Linked DNA regions of Homo sapiens: region 1 is linked to region 2. The links are contacts of gene promoters, found by promoter capture Hi-C in human tissues and cell types (Jung and others, 2019). All regions are on one chromosome and are shown on one strand. The core of a region is centred on a gene start or on the middle of the fragment in contact, and the rest is flanking DNA. Distances in the headings are between cores, read along the strand shown. Region 1 has its middle 53 kb from the start of ACTRT2. Region 2 holds the start of ACTRT2 (actin related protein T2).

What was found. The method cuts DNA at HindIII sites, captures the fragments that hold promoters and counts their contacts. A contact is called where the count stands out against the background at its distance.
Region 1: a contact is called between a fragment that was not itself captured here and the fragment with the promoter of ACTRT2 in region 2, in 4 of the 25 tissues and cell types used here (hippocampus, mesendoderm cells, pancreas and 1 more).

What each region holds. Positions count from the first base shown.
Region 1 is chr1:2,965,542-2,971,560 of GRCh38, reverse strand. No RefSeq gene overlaps it. Among named protein-coding and RNA genes, the nearest start is that of ACTRT2, 53 kb to the left of the region's middle. The HindIII fragment of the contact is 6,143 bases long and covers 1,428-6,019 here.
Region 2 is chr1:3,019,850-3,025,407 of GRCh38, reverse strand. It overlaps ACTRT2 (actin related protein T2), which reads right to left and starts at 3,941. Exons shown (of 1, transcript NM_080431.5): 1 at 2,505-3,941. The coding sequence starts at 3,721. The coding sequence ends at 2,588. RefSeq lists an enhancer at 890-1,059. The HindIII fragment of the contact is 18,700 bases long and covers 1-5,558 here.

The DNA.
Region 1 (6,019 bases), core at 3,250-5,749, 54 kb after region 2:
ACTCCAACCCAAACTGTCTTAAGCTAGTCTGTGCCAGTGTACCCAGGCGGGGAGGAGGCAGGGCATGGATGGATGCCCTAGGACTCCAGGAAGCCATGAGGGGCCGCTGCTCTCCCCTCCTCCTTTGCTGTCTTGGCTTCCATCTCAGCTCCAATGATAGCAAGAAGGTGGCTGGCCTCAGCCCCGACCTCCTGCCAGGATTCAGGCCTCAAAAGGCATCAAAAGGCCTGACGGATCTCGTTGGCCAGCCGGGGAACCACAGGGACCATCCCTTCCGCCTGGTCCAGGTCTCTGCCTCAGAGGTGGGGGTGGGGTCAGCTGCCCCCACAGGAGGGGCTGGGGACAGAGAGGGGTGCCTGCTCAGAGGGCCACCGGGCCTGTCTCAGGAAAAGGAAAGGATGCTGGGAGTCGAGAAGGCCATGTCCACCTGAGGTCACCCTCTGGGTGCCCCGGCCTTCTGGCTCCCAAGCCAAAAGCCTGGCCGTGGACCCTCCTGTCTCCCACTCGCCAAAGCCCCTAAAACCAAAATGCCACTGAGACCAGGCCCCCATGAGGGTGGGGGGCACAGGCCTCAGGGACCCAGTGCCCCTGACCATCAAGGCTCGGGTCCTCAGATGGGAAGGGCCAAAGTCCTGGGAGGAGGGCTGGGAATCACTGGCTGGGTGTGTGGCCACAACGTGGTGAGGCCGCTGCCCATGAGACTGGAACTCCACGCCCCAGGAGAGACTGGATCTCCAAACTCCAGGCGAGCCCTTCCCAAGTGGGGCATTGGAGCCATGTCCACCCAGGGCCCGGCTGTTATCAGCCCTCGAGTATTTTCTGAGCCTTCCTCACACTGAGCCCCATGGACATCTGTTGAGGGCCACCAGAGGAGGCTCTGGATTGTCCCCGGGCCCATGCCCCACGCCCAGCACAGGGCGAGTGCTCAGCACGCTTTGGCCAGGTCACCCAATGGCCGGCCACAGGGTCAGTCTGAAGACTGCAGGCTGCGTCTCTGCCAGCCCCGTTTCTGCCCAGACTCCAGGCAGGAGAACACAGGTGCCCGCCCAGCCACTGCAGAGAAGGGGCCAAGGACAGGGAAGGGTAAAGTGGGCCCCCAGGTCTCAGCCCCCAGAAAGGCCATTTGCAGATGCCCCCGCTCTGTCCTGCCCTCATCCCCATCACCCCCCCTCCCACGCCAAAGGGGTTTATAAGGAACTGTTCGGCGCACCAGAGAAAACACCGCCGTCATTAAGGGATTTAACGACAGCTCTGCCCGATTCAGGGGATTTGCTCTGTCCCTCATTCCACAGTAACAAGCATTTCTCGGGGACGCAGCCCCGCGCCCAGGGCCGCCCTCCTGTGCTGTGTGTTACTTTCATTAGAAGGCGTTTTATGAAGCCACCGATCACAGACGCATGTCTAACCCACGGCCACAGCAGCTGCTGCTCACAGGGCCTGGTGTCCTGCGCTGGGTGGCCGGTGGTGCGCCGGCAGGCCAGTCCGCCATCCCAGTGCACAGAGAGGCGTCTATTATAACGGCTGTCTCTGCAGCCGGAGCCCCTCCCTGACACCCTCAGCCAGAGGGCGGGGGCCTGGCACCAGGCACTGAAAGTCAGGGCACCTGTTCACACCGCTGTGGCGACCGAGCTCAGCCAGGGCCTCCTCTTTCTGGGCCTCGGATTCCTCATTTTGGCAGACAGATGCCTTTCACCTTATGTTAGCAGCGGGGCTCTTTCCCCACAAACCACTAAACCACTAAACCAAAGTAGAAAAGGCAGAGACGAAGCTGATTCTGTTGGCGCGAAACGGCCATCCCGTGCCTCACTCCACTCCCACCCCCAGGAGGCCCCTGGGACACCCCAAATTCCTGAGAGTCTTTGGAACCGTGTCTTGGCTGTGGCCTGGGACTCCCCCCAGCTCGGTGCCTTGAGCCCCTAATGGTGAGTGTGGCTGAGGGGACAACAGCCCTGCCCCAGGAGTCAGCCTGGGTCACCTGGGTTGCACCACCTACGGTCAAGGGACCCGTCAGGCCAGGCCCAGGCCCAGGCCCAGGTGTCCCACAGGAAGAGTGGCTCTCTCTGAAGTTGAGACACAGGACTCTGGAGAGGCACACACCCCTCCCCAAGGTGTCTGCTGAGTCCCCAGCCCCAAGCAACCTTCCCGGCCATCTGAGTCCCTGCTTGGCCCTGCCAGGGACACTCTCCCAGCAGATATGGTGTGTATAAGATGAGGAAGGCAGGAACTAGTCCCCCCAGAGGAAACTTCCGGATAAGCAAGATTTGCAGCTGGAAGGCCCAGGGTGAAGCAGGCACTGGTGGCTGGGGAGGCTCTGTCCCTCTGGTTCTCAGGCCCTAGCCACAGACCTTCCTCCATCCATCCAGACCGGCCACCCTAGGCCAGGACCGCAGCAGCCTCCCCAGGTGCCACCCAGACCGCAGGGTCCCGTGAGCCCCTTCTTCACCATGCCTGGGAGGGGCAGAGAGGGGTGGTCTCAGGCTCCCCATACCCAGCCCTGTGCAGGGCTCTAAAGCTCTGTCTGTAAACAGTTGCGGCTCTGCCCCCTTGATCAGCAAAGCAGCTCAAAGGAATCACAGCCACAGCCCAGGGGAGGGGAAGGGGAGTGGAAAGGAGGCAGGAGGCTGGTGGGCCTCGGGAACATGGACACGCAGGCAGAAGGGGCACCCACAGCTTCTCTGAGGTCACTTCGGTCCTGCCCTGCTTTCCCAGATGAACGCTCACGAGACTGGGGCCTGGCGAGGCCTGGGAGAGTGCAGCAGAGAGGAGTCGGCAGCTCCGCAGCTGGGCCAAGCGCACCCTGCCCCCCAGAACAGCCCATGAATAAGTCAATAACAAGCCCTGCGATCCGGCTCTGCCCTCGCTCGGGCTGGGCCAGGGCGGCGATTGCGTCCACAATACCGTGCATTCATTACGCTCCTTAAAAACAGTGTTGTGTGTCTGGAGAACAGGAAGTGGCCGTAAGTCCCCCGTGTAAAAGCCATCTGAAGCCACGGACCAGGTATGTTCTCAATCAGGAAGCAGGCAGTAAATAAACATTTACGTCCCGCAGCCGCGCACCCGCCGGCCCCCAGGCTGCAGAGGGGCACAGAGAGCGGAAATTTGTTTAGTCCTATAAAAGCACAGGCCGTATATCAATAGATGATTAAACATGGAAATGTTGCTGGCTAATGGATGGTATTGATTTTAATAAGCGTTAAGTACATGGGGTTCAAAGATAAGAACCACACGGCCATCTCTTCGTGCTCAGAGAAAGTGGCTCCTGCCAAGAAAAAAAAACAAAAAACCTCTTTTCCAAATGGAAACTTTCACCCGTCTTATTGGGGGAGTGGTTTCCAAATCAGCATTCATTTCAGAGGACAGAGTGTGACCCGAGTGATATATTCACTGACTCCGGTGATGAGGTGGGCACACCGCCCTGGAAACAGTAGCAGCATGGGTTTGGGAGCCTCCTGTGTCCACCAGCCCTGCATGGGTGCCACGGGTGTGGCCAGTGTCCACTCGCCCCATGCAGTGTTGATGCGTCCAAGGCCAGGGATGCTTCACCTTGTGCCACTCCCTGCTCAGGGAATCACCGATTCTGGGGATTTCAGGCTGCTCAAACCCAACCGCACTCAACCGAACTGAGCTTTTTTTATTTTTTGAGACAAGATTTCACTTCATCCTCCATGCTGGAGTGCAGTGACACAGTCACAGCTCACTGCAGCCTCCACCTCCCCAGGCTCAGGTGATCCTCCCACCTCAGCCTCCCGAGTAGCTGGGACTGCTTTCACCCGAAATGGGAGAGCAGGCTGGACTCTCGGGAGGCTCTGTAACTTGACCTTGCTCTTCCACTGAGTTCAGTGGATGTCTGGGCTCCTTTTAGGCAGGAGAGGGCAGGAGACTGAGCTGACCATGCCCTGGGTCAGTGCACAGGGCCCGAGAACAAGGCTGCAGCTCCCATATCCAGAGACAGTCACCCTGTGCAGCCGCTGGCCGGACGCAGGTCCCGTGCTCCAGCCTCAGTCACTCGGCTGGTGGGGGGTGCGACCGCTTGGGGAGCATGGTGCGAGCCCCCGTGCCATGTGTCTGTTACAGCCTGGGTGGGAGAGGCTGGGGCTCCCTGGGCGTCCAGCACCCGAGGGCCCCGCTGCCCCATGGATACAGCTGGACTTGCCCCAAGCGCCACTCAAGGCTTCCCTGGCTCCCCACGAGGAAGGCCACTTGCTTGGTTTGTTAACTCAGCATTCTTCTCACCGTCCTCCAGGGCTCCTTGCCTCCCAGAGCCCACGGTACACTGGGCCCTGAGAAGTGGGACCAATGAGCTCCAATTTCACCCAGAACGTGTTTGGTTGGGAGCGCCAGGTCCTCCCAGGGAAGATGCTTCTGGGCGGCAGAGGCAGCAGCACCTCTGTGACAATGACACAGTGTGTCTGCCCATCCGCTCGGCTCTGAACCCAGCCACGACCAGGCACCGGCTGCCAAGGCAGCACCCCACCCCCCAACTCCCCAGTGCCTGACCCGGCTGGGAAAGGCCCTCACCACGCTGCATTCTAACCATTACAGACGGTCACTGGGAATTTTCTGATAAATTATTTTGTCTAGCCTGCTTTCCAGGCCAACCTCTTTGGCCTCCACAGCTCTTATAAATCATTTCCCATTGAGTGGGAAACTGAATTCTACCCAAGTCTCAGCTACAAAGTGGGTGGAGTTTCTTTGTTTAGAGATTTCTCATTTTTATAGGCGATAAAGGAGACCCCACCCTCATCAGGGCTGCACCAGCTGGTCAGGACGCGTGGCAGCCAGCTTGGAGACCTCCCTGGCTGGGTCAGAACGCGTGGCGGCCGGCTTGGAGGCCTCCCTGGCTGTGAGCTGTGAGAGTGGAAGCCACAGGGCTCAAGATGGATAATGGGCTGGAGGGAGAGCCATGGTTGTTTTGCAAAAAATGAAGTAACCAGCTGTACATTCTAAAGTGACTACTGTGCGTGCCAGGTCAGGTGCCGGGCTCCCCCCCAGAGCTGTGGTTCAGGCCTAAGGTGGGATGGGCAGTGAACGAAAATGCCAGCCTTGCCCTGAAGCTGCTGTGTCCTGGGCATGCAGCAAGGATCGTGCCAGCCAGGAGCCCTGCGGCTGCGAGACAGAGAGGTGGGCCCAGCTGGGGGTGAAGTGCTGGCCTCCTGGGCTACCCTAACAGTTAGCATAAATGGAGCGCTAAACTTCTCCACACAATAGAATTTTATTCTTTCACAGTTCTGGAGGCCAAAAGTACACAACCAAGGTGTGAGCAGGGCTGTGGTCCCTCCAGAGCCCTTAGGGGAGGACGCTTCTCCTCTTCCAGCTTCTGTGGCTCCAGCAATGCTTGACTTGTAGACGCATGGCTCCAATTTCTGCCTCCTCTTCACAGAGCCTCTCCTCTGTGTCTCCTCTGTGTGTCTGAATTTTCCTCTTCTTTTAAGGACACCAGTCATTAGGTTTGGGATCCACCCTCATCCAGTGTGACCTCATCTTCACTTGATCACATCAACAAAGACGCAATTTCCAAATAAGGTCACATTCGCAGGCTCCAGTGGACATGAATCTTGAGGTGCCCTGTTCCACCCAGCACAGACGATCCATAAAATCTCCCAAGGAGCATCTCCCAACACCCTGCACTCCCTGGAGGTGCTGGGTCTGTCCTTCCATGGAGACTTCGAGCACAAGGCACTATCATGATGTGTTGTGAACATGAGACTCCACTCTGCTTTCCAGGGCCCATCCTGGCTGTGGCCCTTTCCAAGGCCCCAACCCCAGGGGCAAGCTTAGTCCAGCCTTGGGAGTTTCACCCTTCAAATGTCATTTTACTTGTCAACTACAGGTCTTGGCTTAACTTCCCCCTCTCAGAAAGTCCTCTTCCCATTGCAACCTCCAGGACAACTTATTTTCTTGACTTTTTCCCTCATGGTTTGTAATGATAGATTAAGCTTTCCCTGTTCCCACAAGACGGTAGACTCCACAAAGGCACAGACTTGTCTGTTCACCACCATATCTCTGAACAGACAGAGTA
Region 2 (5,558 bases), core at 2,692-5,191:
AACACACATAGAAAGACTGGGAGGTGGAAGGCCGCCCAGGGACCTCGGGACTGGGGCTCCTAGGCTTCCTGACTGTCTCCCACACGTGTCTAGCAGGGTGCTCAGAAGCCTCTGACCCAAATCTCCAACAGGCACAGACACAAAAAGCTCCCAGAAAAGCCTGTTCCCCCTGGGAACAGGGTGACCCAGCAGAATAGCTTTTTGGAAACACCTTCCTTACTCCAGCTCAACACCAATGAAAACACCACACCCCACCTTTGGGTTTCAGTGGGAAAGTGGGGAATTGATCTAACACCCTACCTCCACCTCACTCCCGCCCCTTCCCACCCCCACATTACCCCTACACCTCACCCCACTCCATCCCCTTCCCTCCCCATCTCACCCCCATCCTATCCCCACCTCCCTCCACCCCCCACCCCACCCCACCGCCCCCAGCAGCAGCAGTGAGGCTGAGCCAGGTGGTGTGAGCCAGTCTCATCGCCACCACTTCAGCCTGAACCTTAGGGTCAGTGGGCTCCCTGCAGGGATGTGAACCCCCAGCATTCACGCGGTGGGAAAAGGTGATGGGATAAGCCCAAAGAAATCCACTCCGAGACGCATCAAAATTAAACTTCTGAAATCTAGAGACAGTGAAAACTCTGAAGCAGCCACAGAGACCTGACCCATGACCTGGGGAGCCCAGCGAATAACAGAGGATGCCTGATCGAAACCAGGCGGCTGGAGAGCCCGAGAGCTGAAAGGAAACGGTGACCTGCAGATTCCACTGCAGTGGACACAGCCTTCAGGGATGAGGGAGAAATTAAGTCACCTCAGTTGAAGGAAGGCAAAGATTCTGTTGCCAGTGTCCTATCTTTGCAGAATGGCTGCAGGAAGCTCTCTAAACACAGGAGGAATAACAGCACAATGAGTCTTGGGCTTCAGACAGGACAAAAGAACACCAGATTGGGTAAAAATAGGGGTCAATAGATTCGACTTGACGAGCTTCTTAAATCATATTTGATGGTTGAAGGAAAAATCTCAGCCCCCCTGATGTTGCATTCAGTGCACACACAGCAGACAAGACAACTGTGTTTTAGAGGTGAGGGGGAAGGGTCCCGGACAGAAGAAGGTTTCACGTTTCCCTCTAATGGTACCATGTCAATGCCCGTAGCTTGTGACATCATATACATCCCGGCATATACGGCGTAATACCCAGGGTGACCACTAAGAAACCTACAAAAACGAGGTACTCTAAACACGCTAAATAAATCAAGACACAATCCTGAAACATGTTCCAGTAACCCAGAGGGAGGTAAGAAAAGAGAAACAGGAATGAGAAGCAGAAGACACAGCAGAGAGTGATCAGATGGCAGACTTGAGATTCCGTGTATCAATGAGTTACCAGGTAAATGGACTAAATACACCAACTGAAAGGCAGAGATTGGTAGGGTGGATAAGAAAACGACCCAGCTATACGCCGTCTTCACACCAGCCCCATGCTCACTTCCAACAGCATAGGTCGGTTGAAAGTGAAATGGTGGAAAAAGATGCACTTTGTGAAGATTGAAAGACACACGCATTTCAGGTAAATGGGTTTATTTCATTCAGGCTGAATTTCCTGAGTACTTTTTTCTCCTTTCTTCTTTCCGCCTGCATTGCGTCTCCCTCCCTCTTCCCTTGGCGACATGCTGGAACCCACAGTGCATGCACTTGGTAACCACATAGAACACAGGTATGGGTCCACACGAAGCAGCGGACATAGGCAAAGACATGGGGAAGGGGCGCTGTTTTCTTTTCCAAAAAACCAAGGGAAGGACCATGGCGTAAAGAGTTATCTGTATTTTCCACTTCTCTCCCAATAATATTTTGGGTTAATTCCACCACATCAATGTGGAAAAATTCCCTCCATGCATAATTTACTCAACCGTTAACATTGGTGATGGCCATTAACTTTGTTTCCAGCATTCTGCCCCCAAACAATGATGCTATAAACATCACTGAAAGTAAAAACAAACAGAAGAATCACACTTGCTAAGCAGAAGTGTTGATTCTTTGTACTTCCTTTGGGAGCAGGACCCCTGAGTTTAGAGGGCCCTAAACAAACGGTGACTTCTGTTCCCGTCTGTTCCTATCTGCTGAGAGCGGCAGCTCCACCCTGTTCAGCCGCCCGGCCTCACACAAGCAGAGCCCCGGCCCTGGCATGCTAGGTAGGGCCCACACAGGGAGGGGTTTCTTGCTGAGCCGTCAGAACCTGGTGCACGCGCTAGTCCCCACCATCCCTGCCGACTCTCTCAGCCCACCTAAGACCCTTGTTTAGAATGCGGACTCCAGCGCCCTATTCACCTGAGGCCCAGGGCCCTACTTTCATACAAACTGCAGATGGACACAGCCTGGCCTCAGCCCAGGCTTTCTTGGGAGGAAGCGAAGGGGAGCGGGTGTGGACCAAGACACTTCACAGATTCACTGTCAGGGCCAGAAATGACTCTGCCGCCCCCAAGAAGGAACTGAGCCGAGGTGGCCAGGTGTTCCGGCATTGGTCCTTTATTGAACATCCTCCCAAAGCTGGGGCTAGGGTTCACCCCCCACGGTACCCAACGAGAAGCGGCCTTCAGAAGCATCTTCTCTGCACCACGGAGGTCCCAAACTCCTTGAAGTCTGCGGCGGTGACCCACATCTGCTTGAAGCTACTCAGAGAGGTGACGATGGAGGCTCCAATCCAGGTGGAGAACCACCGGTCGGGGGGAGCCGTGATCTTGATGGGGGTGTCCTTGGAGGCCAGCTGCTCCAGCTCCTTGAGAAGCCGGTCATCCAGCCCGTGGAACAGGGTAGTGCCCCCCGACAGCACAATCTCCCCAAAGAGGATCTTCTGGATGTCGGTATCACACTTGGTGATGCTGCTGGAGACCATATTCGAGAGCCCGGGGCTCTGGCTGCCCAGCTGCTGGGGCACGAACAGGGCCTCGGGCGCCTGGTGCAGCGGGTCCCCGAGGCTGATGATGTTCCCGTCGGGCAGCTTGTACTCCCTCAGGACCTCCTCCGGCCTCCGGGAAAGCTCCTTCTCGGGCTCCAAGGCCACGTAGCACAGCTTCTTTTTGATGTCGTCCACGAGACCCTTGTCCAGCTGGCAGGGGAAGGTGTGGCCGCTGGCCAGGAGCAGCTGCATGAGGAGCTCCGTGATGTCCCTGCCCGCCACGTGGAGCTTGGTGACTGCGTGGGGCAGGGAGTAACCCTCAAAGATGGGGACAGTGCAGGTGACCGCATCCCCGCTGTCCACCACCAGGCCCGTGACACAGGCAGAGGCGTAGAGAGCCAGCACCGCCTGGTCCGACAGGTAGAAAGCGGGCACGCCGAAGTTCTCGAACATGACTTCTGCCATCTTCTCACGGTTCTCCCTGGGGTTCAGGGAGGGCTCCGTTGCAAGCAGGGGCTGGTCGCTGGGTTTCACGCCTAGCTCCCACTCAAAGAGGTGCTTCCAGAGTCTCTCCACGTCATCCCACCCTGTGATCAGGCCACGCTCGAAAGGGGAGTGCAGCTGCAGGGCCTCCTGCTTGTACAGGGCCTCCTCCCCCACAAAGTACTTCTTCTGGTTGGCCTCTGCTGAGGGAGCCTGGAATTTCAGGTGCCCCACGATGGAGCTGACCATGTGCCGGGGTCCAAACTCCCCAGACAGGCCCGCTTTGCAGAACCCCGAGCCATTGTCAAAAATCACAGCCGGGGAGTCTAAAGCGTGCGGATTAAACATGCCCGCAGCCTTCCCTTCTCAGCCTCATCAAAATAAAGACCAGCCCTCCAGGGCCGCTTTGTGATGCAATAGGGGATCCCACAGCTCTTCCCACAGCTCTCGGGGTGTCTCAAGGCAGGGCTAGCACCGTGCCCGGGAGCCCTGCATCCTCAGCCGCAGGTCTGCTCTCCCTCCAGGTGGCCTGGGCCTGCTGAGGCCTCTTCCAGGGGGCCAGGGGGTTGTCTCCTAGGTAACAATCTAGCCAAGGCAACGATTGTCCTGAGCCTCAGAGGCCCTGGGGGTGGGGCTCTGAGTCCCCCATCCCCCACAGGGTGAGGTGAGAGAGAGAGAGAGAGACAAGTGCATCCTAGGGCGGTGCTGGACAAGCCTGTGGGCTGAGGCAGAGACTTAGCTTTAGAGTGGAGAGAAGCAGCCCAGCCTGCGTGCACCCTAGAAAACCAGCTTCTCTGGCCCCTGAGCTGCAACTTCTGGGGTGACAACACTTCCCTTTGCTAAGGGGGAAAACCAAGCACCAGGTCGGAGGGGTGTTGTAAGCAGTTCTGTCCCAGCAGGCACTTAGAATGTGCTTTTGAATAGTGATTCCCCCAGGAAGCTCTCAGGGATTTCTCCTCCCTCCATCCCATTAGTCCTGGCTGTCTGTCCCACTGGGTAGACCCTATTCAAAGCCCTCTGGGCTGCTGGCCCTTTGTCCAGGAATACATCTCTGCTCTGGCTTGAGGCCAGCACCCCTCATTCCTCTCTGCAGACTCTGAAGTGCCAGCACACAACAAAGTCCAGCAGCCATAGAGTTGGGAACCCAACAGCCCTGAAGATATGGCCTGCTGGTTTCACATGGGTAGCCTGGATTGCAGCCTGTGACACCTCTCTGTGTCTATGAGCTGCCACACAGTCAGGCCACAACCACAGAGCAATGCTCAGAGGTGACCAGGCCATTAAAGGTCAAGGCCTGAGCATGACCAGGAAGGAGGCACCGGGCCAGGCCAAGGGCACCCACAACAGTGCACGCCCGGCACTCAGACCCCCGCTTTGTCTTCCGCTTGGGGAGAAAGTGGGAGGGGATCCAACCTGGGAACCAGCTTCACTTTTTTCCTAAGGAGGTTGGAGGTGGCCTTGGAGAATGTGAGGTTTATTCTACCTCTCCTGTCATATCCACAATCATGCTCCAGCCCAGCTTGGCCCCCCAGAGTTCTCCCAGAGGACGCCTCCCGGGGTCACTCCCTTCCTGGAGCCCCTCAGCTCCTGCTGGTGGCCCCCTCTGTGTGTCCTGCCTGCCCTGCTGACCCACCAGCAGGCATTAATCCGATGGTGGTGTAGACACATGTTGTAGATGGGCAGTCTAGACACGTGGTACAGACATGTGGTGTAGACACGAGGTACAGACGCATATGGATGTGCCGTGTAGATGCATGGGATAGATGGGTGGTGTAGACACGCGCGGTACACTCGTTGTTGATGTGTGGTGTAGATGTGTCTTGTTGACACGTGGTTTTGTGGGCCCCACTAATCCCTGGGTGGTAGTCAACAAAAACTTGATTATTGAAGGATTTTCCTAGAGGGGACCCCCCCAGAGGGAAACTGAGTCAAAAGCGTGCCAGGGCAGGTGTGGCTCTTAAATCTCCATTTCTCTGGAAACTGTGGCAGCCACCACACAGCTTGCTTGCAGTCGTCTCAGAGACCCCGGGCTCCCTGAGGCAGTAGGTGTGGACGGAGGCACTGACCCATGGGCACGGCCTAGGGCCCTGAGGCCTCCTTCGAAACCTGTTGACCCAGACGCTGGAGCTCCTCCCTGCCCACATCAAGGTCACCCCGCAGGTCCTGCTGAAGGTCACCTGAGGCC